Linked DNA regions of Homo sapiens: region 1 is linked to region 2. The links are contacts of gene promoters, found by promoter capture Hi-C in blood cells and fetal thymus (Javierre and others, 2016). All regions are on one chromosome and are shown on one strand. The core of a region is centred on a gene start or on the middle of the fragment in contact, and the rest is flanking DNA. Distances in the headings are between cores, read along the strand shown.

Region 1 (7,312 bases), core at 151-2,650, 600 kb before region 2:
TATATTTCTTGTACCTCATCTTGTCTCTCTCGGTACAAGGTCCTGTAAATTTCAGTCACTGTTCACCTGAAGCAACTGAACTAATCTTTAATGGAAGCTGCTGTTCCTTTGGATGTTCTCTATGTAGCCCTAGCTAGATCTATTAAACACAACCGTGGTGATGGGGGGGCAGACCACAAATAAAGAGAACGTCTTTCAGATTTCCCTGCAATGGCAGTATTATACAAGGCTAAATAATTCTGAATAAAGCACTAATGAAAATGATTTGCAGGAATGACTGCGGTTTTAAACACGGCGATCTAATGTACACTCCAATTAATCCGCACATAAATCTTTGAGGCCGCTAATCCTTCAAGAACTAATGGCTCATGAGGTGATTTATCTCAAGGTCTGGTAATAATTGGTCCAAAAAGCCTGCCTGCCACTGGATGAACTAAAATCAGAAACAGATTTGCTCTTTCTACAAATATCTCTCTCTCTAAAAGCCTGTGCTTTGACAAGTGAGGAAGGAATTCTAGTTGTCATTTTATAGCAATGCATTTCTAAGCACTATAAACTCCTTGCTTGGGTCAATAGCAAAGATTAATTAATTAAGAAACAATTTGGTGGGTTTTTAAAATTATTATTAAAAACAACTTTTTAAATACCTCTAGAACCCAACATGTGTGATCCCTGCCATCATGAAAATATATCGTTTGGAGAGGTTCAGAATCTACCTCATCTCCATTTTCTTTAAGTCTCCTCTTGGCTTTGAAGAGCTTCCTTACCCTTTGTCCATGGGTAAAGGTGGACCACCTATCATGGTGGCCCACTCAATGGGCCATGGTACACATGATCCACATACTGGGTCAACCAGTCTTCCCTGGGGTGAACAGATGACTGTAGGAGGGAAATGTCCTGTTTCCATTGGATTTGCTAACCAGGGCTGATAGGAAGTTGGAGCTCTTGATAGTAGTCATGTGCCCCGCCACATGGAGAGGGCTCTTCACTAGTATTACAATAGTTGAGAAAAACAGTACCAAGAAAAATGTCATGACATCACTCGAGCTTCTGGATCCAGCTATGCCGGAGGCCACTGTCACCCTAGGAGATTACAGTTATCGTTTATGAAAGCTAATAAATTGACTTTTGTGAAATTTAATTTTAGTTGAGTTTGTCACTCTGAGAGTTCTGACTTAAATAGCTCCTTCCTCACCAACTTCTTCAAGCTATTTTTTTTTCCTATTTGATGTGCTATGGCAACATACAAGAGTCATGCTGCTCCTTGTCTAAACAAACCCATACATAAAGGGAAGCAAAATAGAAGGGGAGCCATTATGCAGTAACTCTGATTAACCTAGATGTCCAAAGTGAGTGTCCCAAACCCTTCCCCATCCCCGCAAATCTTAAACCCTACTTCTACAGATTCTCTTTCCTCAATAGCAAGTTTCTTTTGACCTAAATGACCTAAATCTCCAAAGTGAGGTGCACATACCAACAATCTTTGGGATGTGGGAAGAAAGTATTATGCCATCTATTTCCTCTTTTCTTCTCTCATGCTTTAAAAATTTGAGTGTTGCTGGGCACGTGGCTCACATCTGTACTCCTAGCACTTTAGGAGGCTGAGGCAGGAGGATCACTTGAGCCCACAAGTTCGAGGCTGCAGTAAGCTATAATCGTGTCATTTTATTCCAGCCTGGGTGACAGAGAGAGACTCTGTCTCAAAAAAATAAAAAATAAAATTGAATGTTTGTGTTTTGAATATTCATAATATTTACCTTGAGAACTAATATCTTTTAAATTGTAATAAGGTACACTATTTACAAACTAATATACTCATGTATACGGTAGAGTGTACTTAAAAATCTGACAGGGGTATATGAGTGTACTTAAAACTCTGACAGGGTATATTACAGTTTGGTGACTTTAAATAACCCTTCAACTACTCCCTAAGCCTCAATTTCCCTGTTTATAAGATGAGAGGACTGAATAGATGAAGGCTAAGTTTTCTTCCAAAAACAACAAAAGACCAAGAGCTCCCACTTCACTTGGCCTGATTATGCAATTAATATAATCTGACCACAATAAAGTAAAAAACAAGGGCTAAAGCATTTGGTCTTGGAATATTTCATTTCCATAGTATTCATGAATATTACTCCCACTGGTTGTTCTGCAAACAATTAGTACCAGTTAGTCCCAGGAATTCTTTTATAGGCTGAACTTGGTTGGCTACAGCTGCCACCTCTGAGTAAAGGTCCCATACAGCCCTCATTTAATCATACAGGAAGATGTAATTACACTCACACAACAGTCATTGTTCTAACAAATTGTATTTCTGATGACGCATGATAAAAATTACTATACAACACTCTAAATAAGTAACAAAGCCTGAGCTAACAACAAGAAAAAATCAACTTAAACTTGTTACCCATTGGAAGCTGTTCTCCTGCAGTGAAAAGTGACATGATATTTTGCAAATGGGATGTTTTAAAGTTTCATTTTTTATTGGAATTTTCGATGCATTTAACATGCAGCTCTTACAAAGTGATTCTTATCTATGATGATTTCACATAAAATTAAAATTGTGTCTTTCATTAGGAAAATAATTCTGCCTTAGCAAATATTAGAAAGAATTTGCTTTTCTTCCATAAATCAGACTGTTCAACTTGCTAATTTATTTATTCATTTTTTAAAATTGTCATCTTTGTGTGGAATCTCTCATAATTATACATAAGGTTAATAACACAGGAAATAACAAATCTAGCCAAAATACCCCTTCCAGATATGACACTTCATAATTCTAGAAATTATTTAGAAATATGCATATATTGGGTTAATTCCCTTACAATTCTAGAAATTGTTTATAACTGGAACTATTAACTAAAAATCATTTATCTATTAAAAGTGTTTTTAAATATACATGATCCAAAAAAAGCTTTTAAGTCAGGATGCTCAAGTTTTCTTTCTGGATGATTAAAATTGAACATAAAACTTCACAGATCAGACTGACATTTCCTTTCAACTAATATTTCTACTTTATTTCTTCTGGAGAAAGACAGTGGCCATGCTTCTTCACTGGGTGTTTTAACAGTTACTGTGCTTTGGAAGTATAAAAAGGGAAATGAACTAATGCCCTGTACAGTCTGTTTTATAGGGTGTGGTCTGCTTTTCAGGAGCTGAAAAAAGCTTTAACTAAAAGTAGAAGAGTTAGGGAAACAGCAATTTTTTTGTTTTTGCTTTTTTAGCTCTACTGAAAAAAGCATTTCATTTCTCTCCTCCTTAATATGCTCATAAATAATATCTTTACATATTTGCTACTCAGATGCCCCACCAATACACTGTAAGAAAAGCAGATTACGTGATGTAAAAGAATTACCAAAGAGTTAATAAAGTTTAGTGTGGCTCTTTTAGACTCACCTGCTCAGCCCAAACTAGCCTTCTCTCCTCAGAGTCATTCATCCTCAGAACATATTCACTACTAGGTTTAAACTATTACCTTCAACTGGATGTCATCAAATTTATCGTTCCAATCCTGTCCTCTGGCACAACCCAGTATCTATTGGAAATAACCCATGTGCCCAGCGCCAGCTACAGTGCCCCTTGCCTTTTCCGGCTTCTGTGCATCCACCTCCTGGTTCACCCAGCATGAGACCTTGAAGACACCCTCATCCATTCCTGTGTGTCCCCAGTCATACCAACCCCATGACACAGGGGAAAGACTTGGTTTGAATCCCACCTCTACTGTTTAAGACCTGGTGACCTTGAACAAGTTACTGACCTTTCTGAACCTCTGTTCCATCATTCGTACAGCTAGACTAAGACCACAACACAGGGCTTGTTTTAAATAATAAATGCAGCCAGGTGCTGTGGCTCACGCCTGTAATCCCAGCACTGTGGCAGGCCGAGGTGGGTGGATCACATGAGGCCAGGAGTTCAAGACCTGCCTGGCCAACATGGTGAAACTCTGTCTGTACTAAAAATACAAAAAAGCCGGGCATGGTGGTGGGCACCTGTAATCCCAGCTACTCGGGAGGCTGAGGCATAAGAATCGCTTGAACCAGGAGGTGGAGGTTGCAGTGAGCCAAGATCATGACACTACACTCCAGCCTGAGTGACAGAGTGAGACTCTGTCTCAAAATGAATTAATAAATAATGCCGTAATGTATATACATTCGGTGGATATCATCCCTCCCTCCCTTCCTCTCTCCCATCTGTCCTTCTTTTTCCATTCCTAATGCCTCTTCAGGAAGAGTGGTCCTTGTGGGAAAAACAGTGAGACTGAAAGACAGGCTGGCTGGAGGGTACAGGGACCCAAGGGCTGGAGTGGGCGGTGGAAAACACCACAAAGAAAGGAAAGTAGGCTCCTGGGTCCTGCTCGGGGGAGCAGAGGAAAGGGGCCTGGCTCTGGTGGGCCAACTGGGGAGGCCCTCCCTTATGGTTGTGATACGTCCTAGATTTTTAACCCCTGCTACTGAATAGTTCAAGCCAACATTAAAATCACTTAATTGACTGCCCTTCCCAAACAACTTGCATATATATAATAATTCATGGATTCTCTGAGTACTCTCAGTCCTAAGAAATAAAAAACTTTCAGGCCGGGTGCAGTGGCTCACGCCTGTAATCCCAGCACTTTGGGAGGCTGAGGCGGGTGGATCACCTGAGGTCAGGAGTTCAAGACCAGCCTGGCCAACACATAGTGAAACCCCATCTCTACTAAAAAAATACAAAAATTAGCTGGGTATGGTGGTGCACGCCTGTAGTCCCAGCTACCTGGGAAGCTAAGGCAGGAGAATCACTTGAACTTGGGAGGCAGAGGTGGCAGTGAGCCAAGATCGCACCACTGCACTCCAGCCTGGGCGACAGCGAGACTCCGTCTCCCAAAAAAACAAAGAGAAATAAAAAACTTTGAACTCCTTATGTGAGGGAACACCGCTCCCTATTACTGTTGGTAGAAATTGATCCTACGCTGTTTCTACTATGAGCCTAGAATTGTAGGATTCTAGCAGTTCCCTTGCCTGGGAGCACATGAGCGATGAGGTGTTGCACAGAATTCAGAATCTTGGCAGGAGCTGGTTTAAGACAAGTGTGGCCTGGCCATTCATTGGGTGAGGGGAATATCAGTCACCTCTGCTCTGGAATTTTAGGAAAGGAACACCCCTCACATCAGAACTGGGAACTTGGTAGTGACTATACCGGGTATGAGGTGTTGAGATACAGCAGTTGGCTGACAGCAGCTGGAGAGAGTAGTTCACATGATCCCACGCTGCACCTGCTGACACACCCCTCCCACTCTGTAGCATGAATTGGGGGGCCACACTGCCTGAGATTGAAGTCCAGCTCCATCACTGACTAGCTGTGTGGCTTTGGAAGAGTCAATGTCTCTGCCTCAGTTATCTGTAAAGCAGGGCTAATAATAGTGCCTACCTCATAGAGTTGTTTTTAAAATTACACCAGTTATTACATGGAAAGCACTGAGCACATGTAACATCCAGCACATAATATACACCGTGTAAGTGTATTTTAATTTCTTTGCTGACTAGTTGTGGCTTCATTTCTTCCAAAAAGCTTTCTTTCGTTGAATCCCCAGACTGGGTTTGGTGTTCCTATTCTGCCCTCTCACATACTTTGGGCTTCATCAATTAAAACTGGAACACGATGACTTAAAATGTGTTTAAGCACCTGAGGAGGAAAGAAGGAGGCCAGGGCAGCTCTGAGGGTGTTTGAGTTCCATACTGATCTAAGCCTGCCCCCAACGCTCACGGCAGCGGTCGCCTACTTGCTCTAGACGAAGGTTTGGCTCCAGACAGAAGCCTGCCCAGTGACCACAGTGTTGTGACCTTCCTGCTGGCCAGGAAGGCCCCAGGGGACTCTGTGGCAGTATAGGGCCCTATGGAGGAACTTTGTCCTGCTACAGAGCTATTGCTCTTGGTAAACCTAGAAGACACGGCCGAGTTCGAGACAAGGACCTGGCTATGGGAGACCTGGTCTCGCTCTCACTGCTCATCAATGGGAGATGGTGGCTGTGCCATGAGCTGCTGCATTAATAGCTCTCTTGGTTTTAGGTAGAATTTCTTATTCTGCCTGAATTAGTTTCCTGGGGCTGCCACAACAAAATACCACAGACTGGGTGGCTTAAACAACAGAAATTCATTATCTCATGCCTGCGAGTCCAAGACCAAGGTGCTGGGAAGGTAGGTCCTGCGAGGGCTGTGAGGGAAGGAGCTGCTCCAGGCCACTCTCTCTGGCTTGGGAAGGCCCATCTTTTCTCTATGTCTTCACATTACCTTCCCTCTGTATGTGTCTGTGTCCAAATTTCCTCCTCTTATAAGAACAGATTGGATTAGGGGCCACCTTAATGATCTCATTTTAGCTTGATTACCTCTATAAACACCGCATCTCCAAATAAAGGCACATTCTGAGGAACTGGGGGTTAGGACTTGAACATAGAAATTTTGGAGGTGGGAAATATAATTCAACCCATAACACTGACTAAAGTAAAACATTTTGTTTGGTTGGTTGGTTTTTTTGAGATGAAGTCTCACTCTATCACCCAGGCTGGAGTGCAGTGGCTCAATCTCAGCTCACTGCAACCTCCGCCTCCAGGGTTCAAGCGATTCTCCCACCTCAGCCTCCCCAGCAGCTGGGATTACAGGTGTGAGCCACCACACTCAGCTAATTTTTTTGTATTTTTAGTAGAGACAGGAGTTTTACCATGTTGGCCAGACTGGTCTCGAACTCCTGACCTCAGGTGATCTGCCTGCCTTGGCCTCCCAAAATGCTGGGATTATAGGCCCGAGCCACTGCACCCAGCCCCCTTTATTTTTTTTGAGATGGAATCTCACTGTGTCACCCAGGCTGGAGTGCAGTGGTGCGATCTCAGCTCACTACAACATCCGCCTCCCAGGTTCAAGCAATTCTCCTGCCTCAGTCTCCCAAGTAGCTGGGATTACAGGCATGCTCCACCATGCCTGGCTAATTTTGTATTTTGAGTAGAGATGGGGTTTCTCCATGTTGGTCAGGCTGATCTCAAACTCCCGACCTCAGGTGATCCTCCCGCCTTGGCCTCCCAAAGTGCTGGGACTAGAGGTGTAAGCCACCATGCCCAGCCTCCCGGCTGCCTGGCTAATTTTTGTATTTTTAGTAGAGACAGGATTTTGCCGTGTTGGTTAGGCTGGTCTCGAACTCCTGACCTCAAGTGATCCGCCCACCTCAGCCTCCCAAAGTGCTGGGATTACAAGCATAAGCCATGGTCCCTGGCCCTTTTTTTTTTTTTTGTAAAGTTCTCATCCAGTTTTGTCTTGTGATGGAAAAAGGTGAAAGCCCAGAAGTTCCT
Region 2 (6,647 bases), core at 2,026-4,525:
CTAAGCTTGATGATGGCAACTGAATTTCCAGGTATACAAATAAATTTGAGGGTGAAGCATAGTTCCTAAAAACGATGCTGATCTCTGTTTTTATCTGCGGCATTGTATGTTATTTGACAATGCGAGGGAACACCCTATCTTTTCAACCTAATTTTTCTTATAATTAAAATTACCATTTTAAGCATTGGTAATTTCTTACCAGCGAGTAAAGTTTTAATTATTCATAATAAAATTTTATGATGGGCAAAAAGAGGAACTGAAGCAGAGTCACAGTTTAAAAAATTATAATTATTTAGTAATGTATATTTAATAATAAACATAAACATACAAAATAACCTCAACTTCACCAGTATTTCTCTCTCTTTTGCCTTTTAAATTTGTTTGTTTTTATTTGTACAGATTTAGGAGGTATTTCAGGTACAGTTTTATTACACAGATAGACTGTGTGGTGTTCATTAGTATTTCTTAGTCATTTTGAAGGAGAAATATGGTTCCCTGTGATACTTCATATTTCCATATTGATTTTTTTTCCTTTTCTCGTCTCCTTCCCACAGATGCTGCAAATATTCCCAGCCTTTTCCCCTTGATGCCCAAAATAAATTCCTCAAATACCCTGAGCCCAGGAACTATTCTTAATTTCACATAAATTTTATGTAAAGGGACTGAGTCCTTCCATCCCCCTGCCACTTCCTGGATTTTGCTCTTCCATACCTAATTTCTCACCAAAAACATACCACCACCACCATCACAACAACAACACTGCTGTGGAATGACAGGAGCCTCCTCAAAGGGCACTGGAGGGGAAGGAACTGTCTGACAAACTATAAGGCAATGGTTCTAGTGTACTTTATTGGCATGGAGGAGGAAAAAGTATAGAGAAACTTATTTACTCATGTGTTGATGTGATCACAAGAATGAGGCCTGACCTGTCATAATCCCCAGTCTAATTTCTGCCTCCATTTTTGTCTAAAACAGAGAAGCCCAACTGTCTGATGGGCAGTTCCGATTGAGAGTACTCTTCCTCCATCACCTGATTCTTAACATTATCCTGGGGCTTTACCATCTACCTGTTCCTGGGACCCAACTCCTAGTGCAGACCTTTCAGCTGGGGGTCCTGGGTCTTCCACAGATTTTTGGAATTGTAACAGCAATGATAATAACAATATTGGTGATGGTGATTATAGATAACCTTCACAGGGCACTCTCTGTGCCAGGTACTATGATAAATACTTAACATTGATTGTCTCTTCTGATTTTCAAAGTTCTAAGAGAATTTTTTTAGTTATCTACTGCTATCTAAAAAATGGCCACAAAACTTAGCATATTTTTAAAATATACTTTTTTTAAACTTTTGACCTCTTTTATTTGTTAAAATAGTGACATCCATAAACATGAAATGATTTGATCATAATGCATTCATTGATTATGGCTCTTGCCATCTTGTGGCATCCAGGACCCTGGCTGAAACGTTTTATCTCACAGTTTCTGTGGGTCAGGAATCCGAGTATGACTTACCTGGGTCCTCTACTTCAGGGTCACTGAGTCAAGGTGATGCTTGGGAGCAGAGTCATCTCAAGGCTCAGTGGGATGAGGATTTGATTGCAAGCTCACGTGGTCATTGACAGGATGCAGTTCCTCATGGGCTGACGGACTAAGGGCCTCAGTTCTTCAGTGACTGTTGGCCAGAACCTGCCCTCAATTCCTTGCCTCATGGGCCTCTCCAATATGGCAGCTTCCTTCTTCAAAGGGCGTAAGCCAAGAGGACAATAGAGAGAGTCTGCTAGAAAGATGAAAACCACAATCTTGTGTAGCCTCCACGGAAGTAACTTCCGATCACCGTTACCATATTCTATTGATTAGAATGAAGTCACTAGGTCCAGCCTACACTCAGGGGAGAGGATTACTTACACAAGGACATGAATATCAGGAGGTGGGATCCTTAGGGATCATCTTAGAAATATTCCATCTCACAGTTTGGGGAAGGAGGGAATAAGAGCTGTTTTAAGATTACAAAGACAATATCAAGACTAGAAGATCAAGGTAGTTCAAGGTCGAAATTGAAGCTAAGAAAGGTAAAGGCTAAGGGTTGGAATGGAGAAGTGCCTTATATAGTTTTTGATCCATAGTGTGTACCTCTCTAATATCCGTGTCTCCCAGCCCTAACATGAAGGTAGAGCTAAGGAGATGGTGAGTGTGAGACTAAAGGTTATATGAGGGATTATTAGGGCACGCCACAAAAAACTGCTGCTCTCATTGGGAAAGTAAATGGAAAATAATGGTAATGGAGTAGTGGAGTGGAACAGCAGCAAAGAGGAACTGAAGATAAGCTATCCTGAGTAAAAGCAACCCAGGGTTCCTATGGGAAGGAGACTTTTGGCAGAGACATGCCACATTATCAAATAAAAAAGGGCAGAGCCAGGGCATAAAGCACGTCTGAAATAAGCTATCCACAATCAAAGACAGTCAAGCTAAAGAAAACAAATTCCAGCCAGGAAACAGAAGGCTGGTTCTGGAAAGATTTTTTGAGGCAATGCTACATAGAGCAGAGGTGTGGAGGAGAGGACAGGGAACATTTTTAGCAGCATCCTCTAAAACGAATTCTATTTCATATGTACTTTATGAAAGGGGGAAAGATTGCAGGAATTACAGGCCCAAAATCCCCCCAAATTCCCGAGGCTCTGTCTATTATAGTCCTTTTCTCCAGCACTCTCCTTTCCCTCCCACTCAGGCTCTTTCGATCTTGTCAACAGAGCAGGAACCACGAAGTTCACACTCTGAACTTCTGTCTTGGAATTATGCCAGTATCATAGTGTGGGGGCAATAAGTGGGGATTCATTGAGGGAGGCAAGACAAACATGTTAACAGCCTTGAAGAAATGCCTTTTTAGTACAGAAAAAGGGAGAAGGAATCAGGAAGGGATTTCTTACCAAACCTCAAAGAAGATCGTTCTTTAAAGAGTGCTAACTTCTCCAGCTTTTAGTGGGGAATTGCCCTCCATGGGGATTAAGAGACCAGCGCCTTTTAATCAAAGGAGGGCTGTACGTTCAAATAACTGGGAACAGCTGAGTGTCCCACCCAACTCTGAAGAACAAAACAGCTACACGAAGCCACTCCTGCCTGCAGTATACAATGCTATGTTTTTTGGCTAATTCTCCAAGGATATTACACTTACTTTCAATGGTTAATGAATAGCTTCTAAGTGCCTGTTTCATTTAGTTGTCCAAAGGCCAGTGGGTCCCAGAGCATATAAAGCTGCAAGCTGGCTAATGAGCTCATTCTCTTGGAGCAAGCAGGGAAGCAGAGGAGCAGCAGGGTCAGGGTGCTGGGTTCCTAAGGTGCAAGGATGCAGAACAGAACTGGCCTCATTCTCTGTGCTCTTGCCCTCCTGATGGGTTTCCTGATGGTCTGCCTGGGGGCCTTCTTCATTTCCTGGGGCTCCATATTCGACTGTCAGGGGAGCCTGATTGCGGCCTATTTGCTTCTGCCTCTGGGGTTTGTGATCCTTCTGAGTGGAATTTTCTGGAGCAACTATCGCCAGGTGACTGAAAGCAAAGGAGTGTTGAGGCACATGCTCCGACAACACCTTGCTCATGGGGCCCTGCCCGTGGCCACAGTAGACAGGTACGTGCTGACAGGCAGAGGGACCAAGAAGGGCTGAGATGGGCTGAGTTGTGTAAGATCTGAGTAATTTCTGATCCTACTATGGAGCGACTTACATGTCCCATGGGCTGTCTGTCTAGAACCAAAGCTTTATTGTCAGGGAATTACTCTGGGGTTGTTATTAGGAAGAGTGGCGCCATCTTTGGGGAAAACCATGACGCAGGGGCAACTCATCTCAGAGAAACCCTACCACCACCCCCAGTGAAAACCCACCTAAGCCAATTTAGAAACCCAGGCTCTTTTGTTATATCATGGCAGCTGTCATTAATTAGTGGCAGGTGATGGTTAGTTACTTCCCATAACCTGGCTATGAGGTTCTAAGGAAAGCAAGTCCCAGACCAAATTCTGCCACACAACAAATGAAGAAGCAGGCATAAAATGAGTCCTGGAATCTCTGTGAGCTCAGAAAAGTCCCAGTTTACTGTCCTTTTAGGTGTTGTGATCTCACCTTGCATAAAACATTCCTTCAGGGGAAGGTGATAATATTCTAGAGGCAAGATTCATTCTTTCTCGCCATCTCATACATTAGGATAGTTATCATCAAAAAACAAAACCAAACAGCTAGTGTTGGTGAGGATGTCAATAAATTGGAACGCTGTGCATTGCTGGTGGGAATGTTAAAATGGTGCAACCACTGTGGAAAACAGTGTGGAGACTCCTCTATACATTAAATATTGAATTACTGTTTGATCTGGCAATTCTACATTCTGAGTTTATACACAAAGGAACTGAAAGCAGGGATTCAAATGGATGTTTGTACACCAATGCTTGTAGCAACATTTATTCATAATAGCCCAAATGTCCATCAACAGGTGAGTAGATAAACAAAATGTGGTATATACATGCAATGGAATATTAGCCTTAAAAAGGAAGGAAATCCTGGCACATGCCACCACTTGGATGAAGTTGAAAACATTATGCTAAGTGAAACAAGTCAGTTACAAAGGGCAAATATTGTATAATTCCACTTACATGAGTACTTAGCGTAGTCAAATTCACAGACACAGAAAGTAGAACAGTGGTCCCAGGGGCTGGTGGAAGGAGAGACTGGGGACCTATTGTTTAATGAGTAGAGAGTTTTAAGGTGATGGTTGTAGAGCAATATGAGTGTATTTAGTGCCACTGAGCTATACACTTAAAAACAGTAAATTTTATGTCATATATATTTTACCACAAGAAAAAAAAGATTCAGTTAATCTTATAGTCAGTATCAGGCAACAAGAAACCTCCTAATTCTTGGCTAGCCACAGGACCATTTAGGGATAACACCCTAGGCATCATTCTCAAGATACAGGCTACAAGACTATAATTATTTTGCCCTCTTCGTGCAAGAGTAGAAAGTATCTAAAATATTTTAGCTACTCCATGTATCTTGAATATAAGTAATCTTACCCATGAGCATCCACTTTTGGCATCCTTTATGCTAATTAATAAGATAATAATTATGAAAACCAAAACTTATTTCCAATGTTATACTAACCAGCAGAGTTTCTGGGTTTGATTAAAAATTAAGAGAAATGAAGTGATTGTAGAAGATGCCTCTAGAGTGATGATTTCTTTTTGTATAAATGTTAGAGGACTACCTCTAGAGTGTGAATTTCTGATAAATGTAACTGATTGCCTTTAGGATATAGCTTAAATTGACTAACACTGCATAATATTACAGTATACTGAAATGTTTGAAAGTAAATTATGGACATCGTAACACCCCCATTTTACTGCCTCTTCTCGCTGCATGTAATAAGATGCTTATCCCACGCAGAATGGCTGGCAAGTCAGCCTGGGAAGTCACATTTCTCCAAAGCATTTGCACTCAAAATGGATACCCAGGTTGAGATATCAAAGCAAATGGGTCTCCGATGATGGAATTCAGGGGACTGGGAATATGGATGGCAGTTGAAGGAGGGTGGGGTTGGGAGAGGTAGCTGGGATTTGGGGCAGGCAGCAGTCATCCTGGAACCTTTCACATCACTCCAGGGAACATCTCACCTTTCTGTGTAAAATGCCTTTACACATGTGCCCCGTGACTCAGCCTTGGCTATTCTGAGCGAAGGCTGAGATTTATGCCTTATAGTAGACAGCTTCTTCAGCTACTGGCTTTGGGCCTGGTAACATTTGGAATGGAGTTGTGGCTACAAATGGCAGTCCCTGTTCTGTTGTGGTTACACACCATAAACACTCCCTGTAGGCACTGGAAGGATCACTCTATAAATACACAACTCAGCCAAGCTCACCGGTCTCTCTTCCTCCCCTCTCCCCTTCCCCCAAATTCATTCATGATGGAGAAGCCAGGAGGATTTAGCAATTAGAAATGCCAGGCAAGATGACCAATGAGTACATCAGCCCCCGAATGAATGGCTGCTTTAGCCTACTGGCATAGAAAGGGCTACAACTGAAATCTGTGTAAAGTTGTCAGTTGATATCATTTGAGAAATGAATATGTTTGTATATTTTCTTTGAAACTAGCTACTGAGTCTCGAAAGGGTGTTAGGATAGAGACATGGCATCTGGTATAGTTCAGGGATCAGCACAGAGTTGGTTTTCATTCATTATTTTGTTGGCTGTGATGATCAGAGAAAGTGAGTGCAATTGAGGGGATGATGCCATGCGAGAAAGGGAGCAAGGATGTGGATGGACTAAGTACTCGGTAGAGAGAAGTTCCCTATCCAAAGCCCCCACCTCCTCTAATGTTGACAAGGATCTCACACTGAATGGCCCTGTTTTCATGAGTGAATGAGCAATAGAGAAGGAATAGCTTGGCATAACCCACTGGGAAAAAAATGTGACTAGAGGCAGGCATCCTGTGGCTGATAAAAAGGTTCTTTTGGAAGAGCAGCACATTTTTAAAAAACTGGTGATGCCAGGAAGAAGTACATCTGTTTCAAAAATCCATGTTTCTTAACAGTTTAGCTTCGCACAATTTGAGCTGAGAGAGGCAGCCGTCTGCCTCTTTGGCATTAATGCCTAAATAACGCACGCATGTTTAT

The links. The method cuts DNA at HindIII sites, captures the fragments that hold promoters and counts their contacts. A CHiCAGO score of 5 or more calls a contact.
Region 1: a fragment that was not itself captured here is called in contact with the fragment with the promoter of TMEM252 in region 2 in 1 of 17 cell types (monocytes); the score reaches 6.1 in monocytes.

The regions. Positions count from the first base shown.
Region 1 is chr9:69,138,411-69,145,722 of GRCh38, reverse strand. It overlaps a transcript of TJP2 not described here. Among named protein-coding and RNA genes, the nearest start is that of TJP2, 32 kb to the left of the region's middle. The HindIII fragment of the contact is 3,032 bases long and covers 1-2,916 here.
Region 2 is chr9:68,537,511-68,544,157 of GRCh38, reverse strand. TMEM252 (transmembrane protein 252) reads left to right here and starts at 3,275. Exons shown (of 2, transcript NM_153237.2): 1 at 3,275-3,621. The coding sequence starts at 3,344. TMEM252-DT (TMEM252 divergent transcript) reads right to left here and starts at 3,133. Exons shown (of 5, transcript NR_187592.1): 1 at 2,928-3,133; 2 at 1,516-1,780. It overlaps LINC01506 (long intergenic non-protein coding RNA 1506), which reads left to right. Exons shown (of 4, transcript NR_109769.1): 4 at 555-617. The HindIII fragment of the contact is 3,743 bases long and covers 8-3,750 here.